2 separate regions of the Homo sapiens genome follow, and region 1 is linked to region 2. The links are contacts of gene promoters, found by promoter capture Hi-C in blood cells and fetal thymus (Javierre and others, 2016). All regions are on one chromosome and are shown on one strand. The core of a region is centred on a gene start or on the middle of the fragment in contact, and the rest is flanking DNA. Distances in the headings are between cores, read along the strand shown.

Region 1 (3,829 bases), core at 224-2,723, 280 kb before region 2:
TAAGGAAGTGGCATTACAAATGGCACAGGGTGGTAAAGGAAGTGATGGTAAGAAGCTGGGAGTAGGATACCTAAGCACTCTGCAGGGCCATGGAGGACTCTTGGAAGAGACAATAGCAGGCAAACTTTTACAGAGTGGAAAAGAAGAGGAGCTGGCTAGGAGGAACGGAGTGATCCTAAGGAGCATAAACAAAGCTTCAAAGACGAAAAAAGAGCATGGTGGGCTAGGAGGGGCATGTGGCATGGAGCAGGTGGAACAGAGCAATGGGCCAAGGTGAGAGGGCCACCCAGGCCATGGTCACATGCTCAGACTCTGTGCAGCTGTGATGGAAGCCACCCAAGAATTAGCCATGAACAGGATATGGGCACGCTTGCATTTTTATGGCTACACACAAGATAGATTCGACTTATTTTTACTTAATGCTCGCTATGTTGACCCCCTAATTGCCTGATGTGTTCTGTAGGATCCCAGGAGGGTCCAACGTTAATTTTTCCTGATTTTTGTTTCAGTTTGAGTGCAATAGTCCCCAATATCACTACATAGCAGTTCCCCCCAAATAATACAAAATATCTTGAGTCCTGATCACTTAACAGGGTGACAAGTACCAGCTGGAGGGAACTGAGGCTCATTAAAGTGAAGGATTTTGGCTAAACTTTCAGTGCACTCATATCTTCACCCATTACCAGAACTACAATCATTCTTAGGGCAGCAAATGAAATAAGCTTTTTCTTCTACTCATCATGGGATTAGATATGGTCCTCGGTCCAGGACTGAAAGCCAATAACTCACTTAGAAGCACCACCAAATGACTGTATTTGGGTATCAGGCAATGACATCCCAAGAAGCTCAATAATACCCAAATTCACTGAGGACCCAAGATGAGCCCATCGTTCAGGCAATCCCCAGCTCAAAAATAGGTTAGTACTAAAGGGTTACTTTTTACTTTTTATTTCTATTTATTTATTTTTTTTGAGACAGAGTCTCGCTCTGTTGCCAGGCTGGAGTGCAGTGGTGCAATCTTGGCTCACTGAAACCTCCACCTCCCAGGTTCAGGTGATTCTCCTGCCTCAGCCTCCTGAGTAGCTGGGACTATAGGCATGCACCACCACGCCCAGCTAATTTTTGTATTTTTAATAGAGACGGGGTTTCACCATGTTGGCCAGGTTGCTCTCTAACTCTTGACCTTGTGATCCGCCGGCCTTGGCCTCCCAAAGTGCTGGGATTACAGGCATGAGCCACCGCACCCAGCCCAAGGGTTAGTTTTTAAAAGCTTTCTTGAGCTATCATTCACATATGTGCAAGTTACCCATTTAAACATACAATTCAATAGTTTTTAGTAAATTCAGAGTTATGTGGCTAACACCACTTCTTCATTTTTAAGAAGCTCAGAATTCACAACACAATTCAATGGGTATTTTTGGATATTGTAGACCCCTATTGGTTCCTAAAAACCAGGGACCCTCTCCTCCAAAAAGTTAGCATGCGTGCCTACACACAAGCACATTTTACACACAGCTTCCCAGGGAGTTCTGGTTCCCCAGAACTAGTTAAATCTCCTTAACCAAATTCTAGTAGCGGGCAAAGTGGTTTCTCGTTCATGTTTACATGAAACTGCCTGAAACTGCCTCCCTACCCCCACAGTAATGAGCTCCTCAGAGAAAAGTACTCAAGCTTGAATGTGCCCAGTGGGAATGGATTGGCCACACTGACTCACTTTACAGGCCCATCTCCAAGTGCTGGTGACTTTGCTCACTGCTGACACTTCAATGCGAACTGCCAGCTCCAGGGCCAAGAAAGTAGAAAATGCTCTTCGTGGCCAGTCCTCGATAAACTGCTATAAGCAAAAGACATACAAATTGTTTTCTCCCCTAAACATTATAATCAAGCTGATGGGTCAAGAACAAATACGCAGTCTAGAATTCAAGATTTCCAAAGTTCTAAGATGCACCAATAAACAGAGTTCAGTGGGAAGAATGATACCTACCTGATTGTAGAGGGATCTTTATATATAAGACACAGGCTTCTGGCTAGTGAACAAAGAGAAGTTATTGGAAGGAAACTGGGAATTTGCAGAACCCACATGAAGTTAGGGAAACCTGGAGTGGAAATCAGCAGTTTGGTGGGCCTGCCCACTTCTGGCTGCGTGGAATCCAAAATCAGTGGCCGGGTACGTGACCCAGTCTTGGCACACCCTCCATCCCACTTGACACTTTGAATCTGCAGAGAGTGGTAGAGACAAAAGGACAATTAAGAATAATCCCACCCCATCTCTACTAAAAATACAAAAAATTAGCCCGTCATGGTGGTGGGTGCTTGTAGTCCCAGCTACTTGGGAGGCTGAGGCAAGAGAATGGCATGAACCCAGGAGGCAGAGCTTGCAGTGAGCTGAGATCACATCACTGCACTCCAGCCTGGGCAACAGAGCAAGACTCCGTCTCAAAAAAAAAAAAAAAAGAGAATAATCCCAAAGTAGCTATGGGGGTGGTTTAATGACATAGCAGCATGTGTCAGCAGCTGCAAATTTGTTCTGGTGGACTGTTTCTATTAAAATCTGATTTTCATGCTTCCTACTTCTTAACACTCTAGAGCATGTTTGGTTCATGCCCAGGTTCTAAGTCTGGTCCTTCAGCCTCCCACCAATTTCTAGTTTCCATATCCTTCCAATACATTCCTTGCTCTTACTTGAGAAAGCCACAGTCAGTACTGTAGCTTGCAGCCAGAACCCTAATTGGTACAAGAACATCTAAGATATCTCTAGGGACTTGGAAGCAGAGACTGCAGAAGCCAACTATACTTATAAAGCATAAGTATCTGATCAGTGAACAGCAGCTGAGATGCATGACTGCCAACCATTTTTTCTGGTGTTGCATCACTCTCAGAATTCAAAGTCTCAGACAAGGGCATCTGACTGACAGAGTTTGGGTCTCCTGCCTACTCCCAGGCTGTATTAGGATGGCATGAGGAAGGAAATGCCCTCTCAGCAACTAAACAGGATGGGAAGAACTGACCTGACTTGTCCTAGCTAAAGCACCCACACAGGGGAAGAAGTAATCCCTGAAAATATCAAGAAATTGTTAGGAAGAGAATATGAGTGCTGTGCTAGCACCATTGCCAGAGTCTATTACACATAATGAAAGTTCATCCTTTGAAAGACTATGAAGCAATTATTCTCCCTATAGTATCCAAGCAAAGACAGGTGCTATATCCTCCAGGTAACTCTGGGCTGAAAACGTATTTCAATAGCTGCAACACATAAAGACTGACCTCACATGCAGAGAGGACTCCAGACATTGATTATATCCTATGCCAGAAACAGGTTCCCAGGGGGCTAGGCTGGAAAATGGAAAAGCTACAAGAAGTAGAATTCCCTAATCCAAACTTGTCTAATTTTTTATTTCTCCCAGATCAGAGTCATTTCTTATCCTTCTTTTACCCTTTTCTAATGTGAAGTGACACCTTCTTCATATAGATTATAAATGACTTGCTATCACATAACAGGTACTGCACAAAGCCATCATTCCCAAATGCCTTGCCCTTCTATTGTGCCTTCTTTCTCAAGAGGTCTTCACCTACAGGCTCAGGTCTGGATCATTGTAAGGATAAAGTGCTTCCCTCTTTTAAAAGTAGTTTTTCAGGCTGGGCATGGTGGCTCATGCCTGTAATCCCAGTACTTTGAGAGGCTGAGGTGGGAGGATTGCTTGAGCATAGGAGTTTGAGACCAGCCTGGGCAACACAGTGAGACCTCATCTCTGCAAAAAAAAATTTAAAAATTAGCCGGGCACGTTGGCACACACCTGTAGCTACTTGGGAGGCTGAGGTGGGAGGATCG
Region 2 (3,419 bases), core at 109-2,608:
TCCTCAATTTTTGGAAAATGTTTACTTTTCACAGCATAACTCAGCAACCTCCAGCCCCAAAGATCACGAGTTAGGTTACAATTCCTTCAACCAACATTTAGTGAGCAACTACTATGTGCCAGGCATTGTTTTGGCCGTGGGGAATCATGGCTGGATGTAGCTGCGTCCTGCAGAACATATGTTCTATTGAGGAAATATAAAAATAAAAACCCAAGAAAAGAAAACAAAATGTTGACAGATGTCAATGGAGACCACCAACACAGCAACCCAGCGGGAAGAGGTAAGGCTCCAGGAGAGGACAAAGGGTAATGGAAGCTGTGGACGCCCCCACCCCAACATGGGATACAAAATATTTAAAGCCTAAGGAGTCACCAACAGACATTCAGCCACTGATGTTGTTGCCCAAGATGAACACGTGGCTCAAACCCACTTAAACCTCAATGTTCGTAACGCGTAACAATCCTCATGCACTCACACTCCTCGGAAGCCTCCACTTGGATCCTTTCCACACACACTATCCTCTCTAAAGAGGATAAAGGAGGCCTCTTCCAGTCCAGTGACGGGGTGCTGAGTGTGTCCAACAGGCAGGGCGCCAGACTAGGTAGTCCCAAGGGGGACCAGGGCCACCGCAGGGCGGGGAACCCTCCCCTTGGCCCAAGCCCTCCTGAACGTCCCTCCTGATTCTACGAGGCCAGCTTCTCCCGAGGCGTGCGTATTCCTCCAACACACCGCTCTATGGGAAGGAAACCCCAGCCACTGCTGCCAGCAAGCGGGGCTGCCTACTGTGAACCTTCCACCCGATCTCTCTGGTGCTGCCGACTCGGAGGGAGGCCCCCTGTGCTGCCCACCTCGCAGCCTGTGGATTCCGGGGCTCCTCCCGGCACACCCGCGCAGCTGCGTCTTTGGGACCTGGCACCGACTAAGCCGCTGCCTCTCCTCCTCCGGCGCTCAGCCGCCTGACACGCACACACCCTCAGCTCCCCCGCGCTCCCCTGGACAACCTCGAATACCAGGCCCGGGCATTCCAGCAAGTCTCTGCTCGCTCGTCCCCATCAGCGACGGCAGGAAGCCACTTGCGCTGGGTCTTACCTCCTTCTGCCAGGACCCAGAGCGACGCGCTTCCCAAAACGAAGAGCAGAGCTGACACCTTCCACATCGTTCCCGTTGAGTTGTTGCTCTCCTGGGGGCCGAGCAGCAAGATTCTGAGCTGGGGGAAAATTAAAAAGCACCGCGGCCACAGGCCCAGCCTGGAGGAGCGCGACGGTGGGGGGGCCGGAGGGGTGGGAGCAGGAGCCCCGGAGAGGGAGGGTGCCCGAGCTTCCCAGACCCTAGGCAGCCGGACAGCAAACTTTGCAGTTGAGAACTTTCCGAGCGGAGTCAGCATTTATCTCTCCCGAGGAGGCGGGGGAGCGGGGTCGGCCGCAAGGTGGTCTCCGTCCGGGCGCGCTAGGCCCGCCCTCGGGCTCTGTTTGGCCGGCGCCAAAACGATGATCTCAGGCCAGGTTTAAAGTTACAGGGCCGCAGCTGCGGGGGCCGCCAGGACTGCGGGCCCTGGCAAAATGGGCTTTTATTCTGCTCAACAACAGGAGGGAAAGGGACCACATGCAACAAACGGGGTTTTAAAAATTATATATAAATTTTAAAAAACCTATATTTATTATTATTATTTTTTTAAGAGTAAGGCACAAGTCTATGTTTTTCTTGTTATGGGCAGAAGTGAGAAGTAAACTGTTTCTTGAGTGGCCAGTAGTTTTAGAACCAAGCATGGGGTTTTTCCTGTAAATATTGAATTTGATGGCTTAAAAACAAAAAAAGTTGGCCGTCATCTGGGTGGGCCAGAGGCGGCCCGCGCTGGTCAATTGCGCCCTTGTCCCGGGGACCGGAGCGGGCGGGCTCCGGGGGGCTGCCCCAGAGCTGGCTGGTGGGGGAGTTTGGCAGACCGGGTGGCTTTGGCAGTTTTGAAAAAGAGGCTGAACTCCATCCGCCTCTGCCGACCCGGGGATCCAGCGCTGCGATGCTGTGGCCCACCGACGTGCGCAGTTGGATTAGGCCGGGCCAAGCGGTGACCCGTCTGGTCGCCAAACCTGTGTCCCCTTCCAGGCCTGGTTCACCCTCTTTATTCCTGAGTTTGCTCCCATAATCCTCACTTTACTGGTTTAAGCGATCTTGCCTTGATCTCAGGTACCAGATATCAGCAACCAGAGAACTTACGTCTTTTACTTTAATTCCTTCTGAATTGCTGGAATTTAAAAAAATAAGAACAGGAGTTTGGGAAGTGGTCTCTGCTCCACTCCCAGATGCCACAAATTCCATTCAACAAAAGAACCTGAAGACTAACGCTGTCTCAAAGCTCCACATTGCGTGAAAATTGTTTTCAGATGCTTATCTTTGACCCCTCCCCATTATAAATTTACTTTCTAAGAATCACAGGAGAGATTGTTTTAAATAAATGCCCAGTTTCCTGGGTTCCACCCCAAACTCATTAATCAGACCTTTTCGGAATTCCTATTTTAAACCAGTGTCGCTGGAGAACTTGTCCCCATGAACATTTGGCAAACCTTGCCCTTCATCATAGCTTCTCAGCCAGATCTACCTGGGGCACTGGTTATGCAGGTGCAATTCTGTTGTGGGATAGGGAGAGATTCTGCATTTCTAAAGATCTCCCAGGTAACGTCTTGTCCTGGGGCTACAAACAGGAGCTGAGCACCTGAACCTAGAAGATGAGGGGTAGCGGCAACACCCCTAGAGCCAAGGAGTTGGAAATGTAAAGAGAAAACTCGTGATACAGATACTCTTTCTTGAACTGACTTCCCCATCTTGGAGATGCATTTTATGACTCTAGTGTCAATAATGTCTGTTGACAGGAGGAATAGTGCATTGTCTGTTGAGCCTGTTAGATGGAGAATAGATGCACATCTATTCTGCTTATGTGTAACTCCAAGGTCACACACAGAAAGAAAGATGGCCCGCTTTATTCAAAAAGATTGAAACACAGTGAAGCCTAGGTGGGGGAGATTGGGTTACATGCAACTAATTTAGAGGGATGCTGAGGCTAGGTCATGATTCAAGGACACCTGCCTTCTATCCCACACCCCCGGATGTGTCTAGAATCTAGAAGGTTGGTCACATGACCTTTTGATCAGGATGGAGGAGTGGGAGGTAATAAGGAATTGCATTCAGCTGGGGGTCCTGGGGTGGGGAGAGGGGCCAGGATGAAGGAGTTAGTGGATCGGCTCTGGGTGCTGTTGGTCTGAAAACCTAGAGAGAAAAGCTGGGTCTTGGGAGGGGGAACCTGAAGACCAGAGGGAAGAAAGAACTCACCCTCCTGGACCAGATAGAGCCAGCAGCTCATGAGAGAAGGAATATGGGCCTTGGGCAGCGAGACTCGGTTAGCTAAAGGAGCTGAAGTGAAACACAGG

The links. Contacts are between HindIII fragments. The CHiCAGO score rates a contact against its expected background, and 5 or more counts as called.
Region 1: a contact is called between a fragment that was not itself captured here and the fragment with the promoter of PDPN in region 2, in 2 of 17 cell types (total B cells and naive B cells). The highest score is 5.8, in total B cells.

Annotation. Positions count from the first base shown.
Region 1 is chr1:13,862,831-13,866,659 of GRCh38, reverse strand. No RefSeq gene overlaps it. Among named protein-coding and RNA genes, the nearest start is that of PRDM2, 160 kb to the right of the region's middle. The HindIII fragment of the contact is 401 bases long and covers 1,273-1,673 here.
Region 2 is chr1:13,581,771-13,585,189 of GRCh38, reverse strand. PDPN (podoplanin) reads right to left here and starts at 1,358. Exons shown (of 6, transcript NM_006474.5): 1 at 1,090-1,358. The coding sequence starts at 1,156. RefSeq lists an enhancer at 917-1,455. The HindIII fragment of the contact is 6,524 bases long and covers 1-3,419 here.